2 separate regions of the Homo sapiens genome follow, and region 2 is linked to region 1. The links are contacts of gene promoters, found by promoter capture Hi-C in human tissues and cell types (Jung and others, 2019). All regions are on one chromosome and are shown on one strand. The core of a region is centred on a gene start or on the middle of the fragment in contact, and the rest is flanking DNA. Distances in the headings are between cores, read along the strand shown. Region 1 holds the start of EDNRA (endothelin receptor type A). Region 2 overlaps LOC105377476 (a long non-coding RNA gene).

Evidence for each region. The method cuts DNA at HindIII sites, captures the fragments that hold promoters and counts their contacts. A contact is called where the count stands out against the background at its distance.
Region 2: a contact is called between a fragment that was not itself captured here and the fragment with the promoter of EDNRA in region 1, in 1 of the 25 tissues and cell types used here (IMR-90 fibroblasts).

Annotation. Positions count from the first base shown.
Region 1 is chr4:147,476,559-147,483,511 of GRCh38, reverse strand. It overlaps EDNRA (endothelin receptor type A), which reads right to left and starts at 2,415. Exons shown (of 8, transcript NM_001957.4): 1 at 2,136-2,415. RefSeq lists enhancers at 1,516-1,595, 1,626-1,725. The HindIII fragment of the contact is 3,954 bases long and covers 163-4,116 here.
Region 2 is chr4:147,090,204-147,097,156 of GRCh38, reverse strand. It overlaps LOC105377476 (a long non-coding RNA gene), which reads right to left. Exons shown (of 3, transcript XR_939316.3): 3 at 1-336. Among named protein-coding and RNA genes, the nearest start is that of TTC29, 150 kb to the right of the region's middle. The HindIII fragment of the contact is 7,270 bases long and covers 1-6,617 here.

The sequences.
Region 1 (6,953 bases), core at 1,166-3,665:
AGAGATTTCCCCCTGAACTCTGAAATAATAATAGTATTTACATATAGTAACTTATTATATATGTATCTGTTATCTGCCTTGAGCTTTACGACTCTAGGTAGGCAGGAGCAATATCTCCATTTTACTTATAAGGAAACCAGAGTCTTGAAGAAGTATTTAGGTCAAGGTTTCAAAGCCAAGAAATGGCAGGACACATAATTTTGCTTATAGGACTTGACTCACTCTGATTAAATGGGAAAAATATCAATTTTTCAAGGCTAGAGGCAGGCCATGTATTTGTCAGCTCTGACTAGACTTAATTATAAACAGTTTGCAGTTTTTTCCTGCTTCTTATAATCTGGAGTGAGTATCTGGCCAAAAATTGATAGACCTATGAAATGACACCATTTCCATTCCAAAGGGAACACCAGGACTCCAAGAGAAAAGCTTCTTGTCATCCTCCTTTTTGGATCACAGATACAGGGGGGAGAAGAAATACTTTCATATCTTGTGCTGTTTCGTGACTAACGTCTTCCAGCTTCCCAAATGAAAGGGAACCTTCAATAACAGCTTTCTTAAAAATGAGAGAGAGAAGGCCTTTGCAGAAATGGAATGGCTCTCTGCCGGTTACAGTCGGCTGGGAACTGACCTGTGAACTGACCTGGCTACGGTGGGTACTGCTCTACTCATCAGAGGTCCTGTGGTGCTTTGAACGTTAGCATGCTGGTCTGCTTGGTTAGCTGATTATGCCAGGAGGTAAGGCCAACGCTGTGGGTTCTTAAGGCATGAGAGCCAGCTATCATTAAAACCCCCTTCCTTCCTCCTCCAACAATGACACCACTACAGAAATCATTTCTGATGACTTCTCTATCAGCTCTCCACACATGTTAAGCTGCAAAACTAAGGGATACTTGGCAAAGGCCTGTGGATGTCATATTATCATTGGCTGAAAAGTACAAAACCAAATGAAAGAAGCCCCTCAACTGCAGGTTCTTCCAAGGTGGGTCTGTAGCTCATTTCCAGGAATCTGAGTCAGGCTGTGCTTTGAATCATCACTCATAATCAGTCATAGCGCTAGTGAAGCATCTCAGGTTCAGACCTGAAGGACATGGTCTATAGATTCAGCATTCTTCCTGTTTGGAATCTGAGAGTTTGGGGAGTGCAAAAACTATTATTAAGAAAGAGGACTGAATCCTTACGCTTACACTTTAACCATTTAACATATGAGACTCTCAGGATCAAAGTTCACCTGTAATTGGTAATTTGGAAATTCAGACCTTATCAAAATGGCATGAGTTTAGAGCATTCAATTTACATGAAATGACTGCCAAGGTGTTTCTCAATTAGCTAACACATAGACAACTACAGGTGGAGGAAAAAACAAGTAAAAGTAGGAACTTTTTACAAGTTTTCTGAGGTTTTGCTCTCTGGTTAAGAAATGAGCAACTCTCCTTAGAGACAACGCCTGAGTTTAATATGCCTCCCACCCCCAACTCTATCAGGGGAAAGCCATTAGGATGATGTAAACAGAGGGTGATTATCTAGAAGCAGCCCTTGTTTTCTGCACGTGAGAAGCAACAAGTGTCCTTTAAAGGCGAGCACAGAACAAAACGCCCAGACCTCCACAGGCAGGTTTCCAAAACTAGCTACACAGGGGGTTTCCCCAAACACCTCAGTCCCTCACACCGAGTGCCCTTGGCTACCCTTGGCATACCCAGACCCAGATGTGGGGGAGGAAAAGCAAGCCAGTAAGAAAAGGCTGTGGAGCCAACTTCACAAGAAGGCGCTGGAGCAAGCCACAGAGCTTGGCGTTCCTCAAAGTTCTTGCATGCCTGGGGAAAAGGGGTCACCCAGGGAAAACTATTGGGCTTCCTCTTCCTAAAACTCCGAATCCTAAACCCTAACGTGGAGAGGTGAAGTTCCCCGAACTCTACACGTGTCCGCAGCGCACCCCTCACGGAAGGCGCCCGCCTCCCCGCGCGCCCTGGGGCAAGTGGGTGCCAGCCCCTGCTGCGACGGGTCGCCCAAGCTGCAGGGCGGTCGGGCCAGAACGTTCCCAGCTCTCGTCTTCTCCCGACCGAGGGGCCCAGGCAGCGTCTCCGCCATCCCCGCACCCGCCCCAGTCCCAGTCCCCGATAAGAAAGACTTGCACCGACCGTGGAGCTCGGCGTGCGCAGACAGCTGCCGGGTCCGCGCGGCGCCTGGGCCAGAGGAAGCCGGAGCCGGCGAGGGTGGGTGGCGCGGAGGGTGGCCGGTGTCCCGGGCTCCGGCGCGGCGGCGGCTTCGGCTGCACAGCTTCCCCGGCTTCAGAAAACCTCCTGGGCACTGCTTCTCCCGGGGAGGTCTCGCTGGGACCCCAATCCCCGGCGACGACCGGGTGGGATGGATGAAGCCTCTCCACCGCCTCTCCACAATCGTCAGACCAGCGGGATGACTGTACGCGCGCGCGAGGGCTCGCACGAAAAAGAAAACTCCGGAGGAACACGCCTCCAGTCTGTCCTCCCCGTCTCCTCCCAAAGCTCCAGACCTTCCACTCCACTCTGGGACCGCAAGAGCGTCCTAACCTTCCAGCTATCCTGGGACGCGGCCACTAAAAAGCACAAAGCTGCCGCCCCCTTCCAGGCCCTGAAGGGCAGGAGTCTTTTTTAACTATTTCCTTCCTGAAAGAAAAGGTGGGGGATGTGGAGGAGAGAGGGTAGAGTTTGACAGACAAGACTCAGAATTCCGAAAGGCCTTGCAGAGGAACCCATCCTCTTAGTGCAGGCAGATTTGATCTGTGACGGAACAACTGGACACAGAGCCAGGGCCCACGGGTGGTTTCTTCTCCGTCTTCCCTGCCGCCTTTGCTTGGCTTGCGTGCTCCCTCTTAAGCTTAGAGGCCGTTGAGGAGCCGAAGTGGACAGCAGTTTACTGGATCAGGTGGTTTGCTTCTATCTTGTCCCTTGTAGCCAGCATCCCACGGCTACAGACCTCCAGCCCAGGGCAAAGAAGGAGCCTCAGGAGAGACTATGGAAGGTTCCAGCGCGTGGCTCCGTGAAACCTCAAGAAATTCAAACAATGAAGAAGCCGACCTTACAGAAAGTGGGTCTCAACGTCTTTATCACGGCAGATACTTTATCCTAAATTGGGGGTGGGAGAGGAGATGAGGGACAAAGGCCACTGCCTGTGACATGTGAGTAAAAACTGGGGTCTCCTCAGGGAAGGCCTGCCTTGGAGTCCTTCAGTGCACTGCTAGAGTCAGCACATGGTAGAAGTGTGAGGTTGGAGCACTGGTCATGTTATATCCCATGCTGTTCCGGCTATCTGCTGCAGCTAAACAAATTACTATAAAACGTAGTGGCTTAAAATAACAACACTCATTTACTCTGCTTATCAGTCTGCAGTTTGGGCAGAGCCTGTCTGGGACAGCTCGTTTTTGCTCCATGTAGCAGGGGCTGGAGGATCCACTTCCAAGACAGTTCACTTGCTTGGTGTTGAGTGTTAGTTTTTCTCCACGTGCGTCTCTCCACAAAGACTTGTGGAGACTTGTGGTTTGGGCTTCCTCACAGCATGGTGGCGGGGATCCAAGAGTGAATGTCCCCAGAGACAGAAAGTGGAAGCTGCCAGTTTCTTAAGGGCTGGGCCCAGAAACTGGCACCGTGTCATTTCTGCTTGATTCTATTAGTCAAGCAGTCACAAATCCCAGATTGAAGGTGAGGGTATATAGAGCCCAACCCTTAGTGTGAGGAGTGTCAAAGAATTTAGGGACCATTTTGTAAAACCATCAAAGAGATCTACAGAAAACCACCATTGAAAGAGGCCTTAATAGTCATCTAGTAGGGTTAGACTAGATATTACCCTGTTCACTAATCTTACAGCTTCTCTAGGAGGGAGAATCAGCCAACCAGAATAACTAATAGCTTTTATAAGTGCCATTGTTTATATTAAAAAAAGGTGACCCTTTGGGCATGTGGCTTGGCAAGCTGACAATATTTTCGGGAAAGAAAAACTTACTGCTTCCTCCCAAAAGAGGCAGTTCACATCTTGGCCCGTGAAACATGTGCTGGATTTCAGCCCTTATTCACTCTGTGGCCAGACACACTTGGACAGTGCATCACCTGCATATCTGAATATGTCAATCTGTCCAGTCTTTGCTAGAACACATTCATCATGACCCACCTATTGAGACAGCTGATCTCACTGTGGTGTAGGACTAGTTACTAAAAATTCTTCCTTCACACCTATTAGGATAGCCATTATAGTAAAACAAAAGCAAAAACAGCAAAGAACAAGTGTTGGCAAGAATGTTGAGAAATTGGAACCCTTGTGCATTGCCAGTCTGAATGTAAAATATAGTGTAGCAGTTGTGGAAAACAGCATGGCAGCCCTCCAAAAATTAAACATAAAATTACCCTATGATCCAGCAATTCTACTTTTTGGTACTTACCTAAATAATTGAAAGCAGAGTCTCAAACAGATATTTGTACACCCATATTCATAGCAGCATTATTCAGAAAAGCCAAAAGGTGAAAACTAGCCAAAAGATGGAAACAATCCAAATATCCATCAGTGGAAGAATGGATAAACAAAATGTGGTATATACATGTATGTATATGTATATAAATACATGTACATAACACAGAACATTATTCAGCTTTAAAAAAGAATGATATATGCTACCACATGGATGAACGTTTAAGATATTATGTTAAGTGAAATAAGCCAGACATAAAAGGAAAGATAGATATTTTATTATCCCACTTAGATGAGGTACCTAGAATAGTTAAATTCATAGACACCGAAGGTAGAATAGTGATTACCAGGGGCTTGGAGGTGCCGAGGGGAGAATGGGGACTTACTGTTTCATACGTTTCAGAGATTTAGTTTGGGATGATGAAAAAGTTCCAGTGACGGATGGTGATGAGGGTTGCACAACAATGTGAATGTACTTAATGCCAATGAACTGTACACTTTGAAATGGTTAAAATGGTAAATTTATGTTATGTATCTTTTACCGTAATCAATTCTTCCTGACATCAAAATGAAATCTGCCTCTATACGTTACCTGTTGATCTGCCCTCTAAATTCATAAAATGAGTTTACTGTCTCTTTTAAGATCTTTAAACATAAGTAAGTGTATTTATGTGAATAATCAGCATAGACCTGCCTTTGTAAGAGAATAGGATTGCCTCATTCTAGATGAGAACAACATAAATGTTCTTTAGCTGTTGGAGATTTATATCCTCATTTTCTCAGCTTTACTTGGGGCAAATGACTTCAGGGGACTCGAACCAGTTTTTAGTCAAGTTAACTTTACCTCCAGTTACCTTTCTCCCCATAGATAATACTTTATATACTTGCCCCAACTCTATATTCCATGCTTTTTACTTTCAAAGAACATATAATTAATATATTTGACTAAGCTTTTCAACTTGACTTCCAAAGGTTATTTCTTTCCCCTGGAAAGTGGGTTGGATGCAGATTTGCAGGTTTTCTGGGTTTCGGGGAAACTATCCTGATCACACTTGACTTCTGGTTCAAGTAGCTCACTAAGTGGAGGATTACTGTAATGAACTTATCTTGGCATCATGTTAGTATTGTATTGATTTCATGAACAAAAAGTGCTGAAGATTAAGAAGTACTCAATATAGCACTTAAAAAACCATTTTTTCATGTGTCCTTGGGGCAAATGTTCTTCTGAATTTAAGTTTCTTGATTTAAATTTGTAAATCCATTTCACAGTTGCTAACTCCCAAGATCCTCAAACTTGAAATGCAGTAGTGGTTTTGAGTCTCACAGTATTTGCTAGAGATGTGTTCATGGTTAAGGTCTCTAGGAGCAATGAAACCTGAAGTTTTCAGAGAAGAACCACAAAGACTGGTTGTGAGAGTAAAGGCAGAGAAATTGGGGAAATGTATGTCAGAGACCTGAAACTGTCACTACAGCCTTCTCATTGGTTAGTGCTGTGGCCAAGACTATTGGCAGCAAACACACCTGTCTGGAGATGAAAAGACAAGCCCTATTAGTTGAAGATCCATTTTTAATTAAAACTGACTAGAGGCAATTTGTTTTTGAGGTAAACACAGTCATGTGCCCCATAACATTTTGGTCAATGGCAGACCACACGTGGTCCCATAGGATTATAATACCTAAGTTGCAAGAGATTTGAGAAATATGCTTTTAAAAAAAAAGAAGAAAAAAGACTGTAATACTATATTTTTTTTACCATACCTTTTCTATGTTTAGATATGTTTGGATACACAAGTACCATTGTGTTACAACTGCCTACAATATTTAGTACAGTAACTTGCTGTACAAGTTTGTAGCCTATGAGTAATAGGCTATACCATATAGCTTAGATGTGTAGCAGGCTCTATCATCTAGTTTGTGTAAGTACACTCTATTATGTTCACACAACGATGAAACCACATTTCTCAAAACATATCTCCATCATGAAGACACATGACTGTACTCCAAAATTAGTCTATAGATGAGCTGCTGCTGGAGATTCTAAAGTGCTTATGCATTGCAACAATGTTGCACATGGTGGTTTAGACCAGGTTATCCCATTAAAATATATTTAATATATCAAGTAGCCCAAAGTTTTTTTTAAATTGCTGGTGGCCCCATTGGAGAGCTGAGAAATCAATCAATCTTAGTATTACTAATGATAGGGTAACCAGATAGTAAGTGTCCACTGATCATATATTCCATCCATTTAAAAATGTTTCAGTTGAATATAATCAGGTCTTCAGCTGTAACTTCCAGTTTCCAACAAAGATGGGAATAGATGAACAAGGTAAACAAATACCATGAGGATGCAAATAAACAAATCTGGAAGTTACAACATTTTACAGGGCAATTAACCTGTCTATTCAACAAGCCAAGCAATGAAAAGATGATTATCTTTTTCTAGGTTGAAAGAGATTTAAAGGAACGCAACATCCAGTTGTGCTGTTCTGGATTGGATCCTGGTTTGGCTAAAGCAACTATAA
Region 2 (6,953 bases), core at 1,733-4,232, 390 kb after region 1:
GATTTAATTTTCCAACAACCAATTTTAAAAAGTAAAAATGCAAAAGCTAGTAATTTAAATACATCACTCTGTACAATGGGAACAAGGTACAGCATATTAAATTATGATTTTTCAATTCATTTACCTAAAAAGTGTACTACACAGTATTCTATTTCTGTGCATTTTTGGATAACAGACATTTGTACCTGGTGCATTTGGAGATGGTGTGGCCTCGGCTCTTCTAGTCTTTGTGGCTACAGAGAACTGCCCAGATGTTGAAATATGTTTTCATTCAAATCATTTAACATCTCTCTTGATTTTGCAACATCCTGGAGCAGTGATTTCCAAATCTGGAAGCTAAATAAATAAATAAAATTCCAGGAACCCGTCCTCAGAGATTCTGATTTAGTAGCTCTGATGTGGGCATGGGTATCTGAGTTTTTAATAGCACCTCCATCTGCTTCTGATTATCAACAAGTTTGGAAGTGGTCTTCGTGTCCTTAATTCCTTTAGCAACAGAATCCTTCAAATAATATGAATTTTAAGTCAACTTAATTTAAAATTGCCACACTTTTTTTTTTATTTTAGCAAAATGGTCTTCATTAAAAATACTCAAATATCTCAATTACTAGAAAGTTGAATTCATTGTAAAGATAGTAGGGCTTTAACAATTGTAATTAATATTCATTCACCCTGTGTGTCTGAAAGAAAGGTGATCAGACCCACGTGTGAGTTGGGATTGATGTGATGAGAAAGATGGCTCGCACATGGGTTGCCATTCCTGTGTGTTTCTCAGAATGGGGATCCTTGCACTGGGGAGGGGTGGATTTCTGCAGGAATAATTTCAGACATTGCAGAAGGATGTGTCTCTATTGTTATTCTGTTAAATACTAGGATGTATAACATAAAATGTCATTATCATTTCGGATAATTTTGAGGGTCCCATCAGCTATGTGAAGTAGTATTTTTCTTTGTCATTTCCCATTTTCCCTCTTCTCTTTTTCTCCCTGTCACTTTCTCTTTCTCTGTGTCTGTCTCTCTCCCTTTCTCTCTCTGTCTATATATATATACACACACACACATATATACACATATGTGTTTATATACGTATATACACGCATATATACACTTATGTGTATATACACATAAGTGTATATGTATGTATATGCACTTATGTGTATATACACATATGTGTATATGTATCTATATACACATATGTGTATATACACATGTGTATATGTATGTATATACACATGTGTATATACACATGTGTATATGTATGTATATATGTGTATATGTGTGTGCATGCACTTGTGTGTATGTACACACACGTGTGTATGTGTGTGCATGCACTTGTGTGTATGTACACACGTGTGTATGTGTGTGCATGCACTTGTGTGTATGTACACACGTGTGTATGTGTGTACATACACTTGTGTGTATGTACACGTGTGTATGTGTGTACATACACTTGTGTGTATGTACACACATGTGTATGTGTGTATATACACGTATATATACATATGTGTATATGTGTGTATATACACGTATATATACATATGTGTATATGTGTGTATATACACGTATATATACGTGTATATGTGTGTATATACACGTATATATACGTGTATATGTGTATATGTGTGTATATATACACGTATATATATACGTGTATATGTGTGTATATATACACGTATATATATACGTGTATATGTGTGTATATATACACGTATATATATACGTGTATATGTGTGTATATATACACGTATATATATACGTGTATATGTGTGTATATACGTGTATATGTGTGTATATACACGTATATATACATATATACGTGTATATGTGTGTATATACACGTATATACACACATATACACGTATGTACACACATATACAGATATATATATCTAAATAAATATATATTTCTGTCATTATTTGTTCTGGATCATTATTAACTCTTTGGTTTAAGGTGATAGCTTTAGACCAATTAATCACTGTTCAAATATTATTTGCCTTGGCTCATTTGAATTAAGTGACCTCATTAGTTTTTTTTCTTTCTCTAATATTATATTTTTGTATTTAAAAATGATATGAAAATATAACGAAGACTAGTATTACAAAATAGCACTATCCTTTTCTGGTGTTAATTCATGAATGTGTATAAAGGCCCTCATAATGATAATTAAAGAGAATGGTGCTTTCTTGAATGGGTTTACAGTTAAGCTACACATAATGTTTAAACATTAAAAGCCAGTTTTATTCTCATAGAAAAAGAGTACCAGAATACCATAGCATGACTCTCCGGTTTAAAAGAGTCAAGTCTACTGATCTCCAAACTATACTTACACAGATTTTTGTTGCTAGAAGTTAAGAGTCTGGGAAAATTACTGCTTTGTCACATTCTCTTGCCTTCTTTCTTCTTGTTTCTCTAGTTTTTTAAATAAATCCTTGACTTTAAAGACAAGGAGCTTCTTATAAATTTTCTAGTTCACAAAAACCACTTCTAATTTTTAAAAGACAATTTCAAAAAAGCATGGTTAGAAAATGGAGCATGTATTGAAATGTACATTGACTTCTGAGTCAGATACACAACTTAGAGAAATTCTGTCTGGGCGGCTGCTTGATTTTCCTGTCATAGTTGGAGTCCACACTTACCACTCCCTGCATTCCAGTGATGGTCCTTGGCCATAGGAGAAGAGTAAACACAACATTCTATTTACAAGTTTTCATTTAGAGGTAGAAGTCTCTGAACCTGCCCTTGACAGCTCCCACTGAGCTGGACCAGCAGAGGGACCTGAAGCTCCGCTCATGCACCTGGGGTCAGGGATAGAAATTTGTGTGTCCAAATAAACATTTATTTTCTTAGAATTTTATTGCCTGTTTCTCCCCTTTAAAAAATGCAAGAGAATTATCTGCAGGAAAACATTCAGATTTAGATCAAAACAGAAAAATGAAGCAATGCTCTCTAGTGAGAGGGCTAAACCATACTTCTTCCCTCCTGAAAAATTGTCAGTGATTTTGATTAGCAGGAATCATTGACACTACAAATCAACCCTGTTTTAATTTTTAAAAGACACTTGAGGTGTGTTTCACAGCACATTGTGTCTGTGCAAACTAAAAAATTAAAATAAAGTAAAATTTAAAAATATTTTAAGCCCAAAAAGCAGGAAAGGGAGTACCCCTAAATTTAGAAGATGCCAGATCTTAAATACTAGAAAACCCTGTCCTGGTTTCCAAATGTTTACCCTTCTGCAAGGCTGGCCCACAGAGTACCTTCTCTCTTCAAAAGAAAATCCTGGCACCTAGAAGATTGGGCTGACAGTGAGTATTAAAATGACTTGTTTAATGAGCAGCGTGATTGAACAGGGTAGGGAATGCTGGGGAGTTTTCTCGCAAGGACTAGGTTTGGTGTTTATATTTTGTTATGTTGTGTGCTTCCACTGTCCCTTATTTTGACAAGCTATCGAAAAGTTTAAGATGAAGATGGGCAATTTAAAAAAAAAACTGATTGCTAAAAAGAACTGGTGCCTCTTCTTACCCGTCTCTAATGGAATATAGGCTGTACCACTTAAGTGAGAGAGTACTTGGCATTAATACAGCACCAAAGATTCTTGAGGTCTGTATAGTACTAATGAGCAGGGGCTGTGATAGATGTTTTATTTTTTTAAAGCATTAGGCTACCCTCCACTAAGTAAAGGCTATTTACTAAATGGTAGGCAAATTGCCGATTCTTAGGACTGGAAGGAACTGTCCTCCAGAAATCATTAACTGCATTCCACGCTTCTTCCAGGTTGGACTACATTTACAATGTTTGTGTCCTGCACTCTCTAAGATGATATTGTCTACTCTAATCTTTACTTCCTGATAGACTGGACAAATTCTGCCCCTCACCACCCAGATGATTCCATTGTTTAGGAATCTAACCTCAATTTCCCTTCCTAAATTTAAGATTATTACTTTTTTTTCTTACTAGAAAAATGGAGAACTTTTCTTTTCTTTGCCAGGACAGATATACTGACTTCTTTATGTTTTATGTTTGTCATTTTGCCTCTAAAGTTTGGACTTATTTCTCAAGGAGTTCAATCTTCTCTTTTCTGTCATTTCAAACTTTTCACCATTTCCATTTTTTTCAGGGAACAGGAAATTAAATAACTAGTAAATGTTGAATCAAAAGAAACTCAGGATGTAATATCAAAAACCATACATAGAAATATCATATAAATCTAGTATCATAAAATTTTAAATTTCATGGCTGACTAGTAGGAAGAATGTAAGTGGACAGCTTTATTCTCTTCTACTTCATAGAATTGGGCTCATCAATTTACAAAATGTCCTAGAAGCAAATAAGTGGGTGGTAAATATTCTAAAGATTCTAGCATTTATTCTTTTAAACTAAAACTTCCAGACTTTTATGGATAATATTTTATTCTTTGTGTCTTCCAGAGAAAAAGGGAGTCTATATTGTTCAAATTTACATTATCTATGTTAGAGTCATTTTCCTGAAGGCTATTTAAAGGTTGAGAAATACTGCAAATGTCTGAAAGACAAGTGTATATTTTAAAAACAGATGCATACGTGCATGGCTTTAACAGAGAAATACTAACATATATAACTAATTTTTTTTTTTTGAGACGGAGTCTCGCTCTGTCGCCCAGGCTGGAGTGCAGTGGCGCGATCTCGGCTCACTGCAAGCTCTGCCTCCTGGGTTCACGCCATTCTCCTGCCTCAGCCTCCCGAGTAGCTGGTACTACAGGCACCTGCCACCACGCCCGGCTAATTTTTTTTTGTATTTTTAGTAGAGACGGGGTTTTGCCGTGTTAGCCAGGATGGTCTCAATCTCCTGACCTCGTGATCCGCCTGCCTCGGCCTCCCAAAGTGCTGGGATTACAGGCGTGAACCACCGCGCCCAGCCCATAAATAAATAATTTTTTTAGAGATCATACTATTGCAACTAAAGAGAAAATTTGCTCTCTTTCGACCTCTCTATTCACATGGTCTAAGATTTCTTTTCATATTGCAGTAGGTGGAATGGAGTAAAATGACCACAGTAGGGCTGTAGGGAGAATGCTTCCAAGATAGTGAAACACTGATGGGTAATAATTGGTAAAAGCTCGGTTGTTTCAGGGAAAAAATTTTCATCAGGCTTGGAAATACACATGCAAATGGCACAGAGTTCCAAAATGGGCTGTTGCACCCAACACAAAAGAAGACCTGTGAGCGCATGCATGTGCAGGCATATGTATGTGTGCACGGGTTTTCTGCTGCCAAAGGCTTTATATCTTGGTGGCACCCAGATGGTGAGGAGGAAGTAGTCAGAATTGCCTTGCTTGACTAACTCTCCATTTTGATGATCAAACCCCAAACAAACCCAAAGCTTTGGTCTGGGGGCAGGGTTGTCACTTTTAAATATAACAAAATAAACTACCCTCCCTCTCCCCCCAAAAGCAGCCATTTGTAACTTGGACATAGATTCAGGGCCCATGAGAGCAGAAAGGCTCCTAGAGCTACTGAGACCAAAGCCTCCAGGTGGCGGAGGAAGCGTCAGGCCCAGGTCAGCATGTCTTTTCAGAAATTAGTCAGGAAGACTATGCTGGCAAAGGCAGCTCCTATGCAGACCTGTGTCACCCTTCTCTTCAGAGTAAGTCTCTAGTCCTTGCCTTTTCTTCTTATGGACTCTCCTTTTCCTCCCTCTTCTCAGGGGGAAAATGATCTCAAAGTCACAACATGAATATTTGCTAGGTTTGATTTTGGCAAAATTAAATAACCCCTTGGTTTAAGCCAGGCCACAGGAGAGCTGTGTGTTTTGCCTGGTGTAGGCTGGAGCCTGGTGAATTGTGCTTTCGTGTTGTGCTATTGCTTGTATTGAGAGACACTAGCAAGGGGCCTTATAAAGCCTGTTACTTTGTTCACTGTAGGGATTCTGCAGGCTGCCATCCATACAATCAGGCCATTGGCGAATGCTTTCACATAACTCATGGGAATTAATATTTTAAGTTTTATGATCTGCGAAAAATCATGTTTCTCCCCAACAATTGTGAATTTTTTCCACTATAAATTTTGTAACTGAACATTGTCTGTTTATTGCTTAGGCTGTTGGGAAGCATTTGTCTGAGCTTGCAGGTTCAGTTTCCTTATCTGTAAAATGAAGATAATAATAACGTACCTCATAGCTTTACTATGAAGAAAGATAATGGCTTTATTTTGAAGAATAAATGTTTTTTTCTACAAAGATAAAGAAGGTAAAACATGGTGCATCTTTTTTAGCCCATGGTGAATGTTTAATTAATGTCAGTTGTTATGATTTATGCATGTGACAACAATAATGTATCGGTAAGCAGTAGTGATATGTCAGGCACTCTGATAGATGCTGGAAATAAGGAGCAACCTAGACCCAGCTCGAACTCTCCAAGAGTGCATTCTCAAACAGCAAAAGCAAGCTGGTAAGTAAATAATGAAGTGTGACAGGTGCTGTGACGAGGAAGGACAGGTGGGAACATGCTTCGGGAGCACCTACTCCAGTCTGAGGAGCATGACCCAGAACTGGAGGAAGTTTAAGTGCAAGTTCAGCTGGTGGAGAGGCAGAGGAGCCTCACTGAAAAAACTGTGCAGGAAAGGACATATTTGAATTGTTGAACGAGGTCTGGTGTGACCAGAGGGCAGAGTAGCTGGTGGGGTGCTGAGACTGCCAGAGAGGTGGACAGCAGTGAGGTGCCGGGTCAGGCTAGTATTATAAGCTACACTGAGGAATTCTGACTTTATCTTATGTATAGGGGGCAGTCATTAACATGTTGAAGCAATGATAAGACCTCATCTGATTTGCTTTTTAGAGGTATCACTCAGGTATGGAGACTGAGATTAGAGGAGGGCTAGGTGGGAGTTGAGGAGATGAATTGGGCATCTCTTGAGCATTGGTGCTGGGGACTGGACTAGAGTCAGGGCATCCATCCAGCCAAAGTTCCACCTTCCACTTTC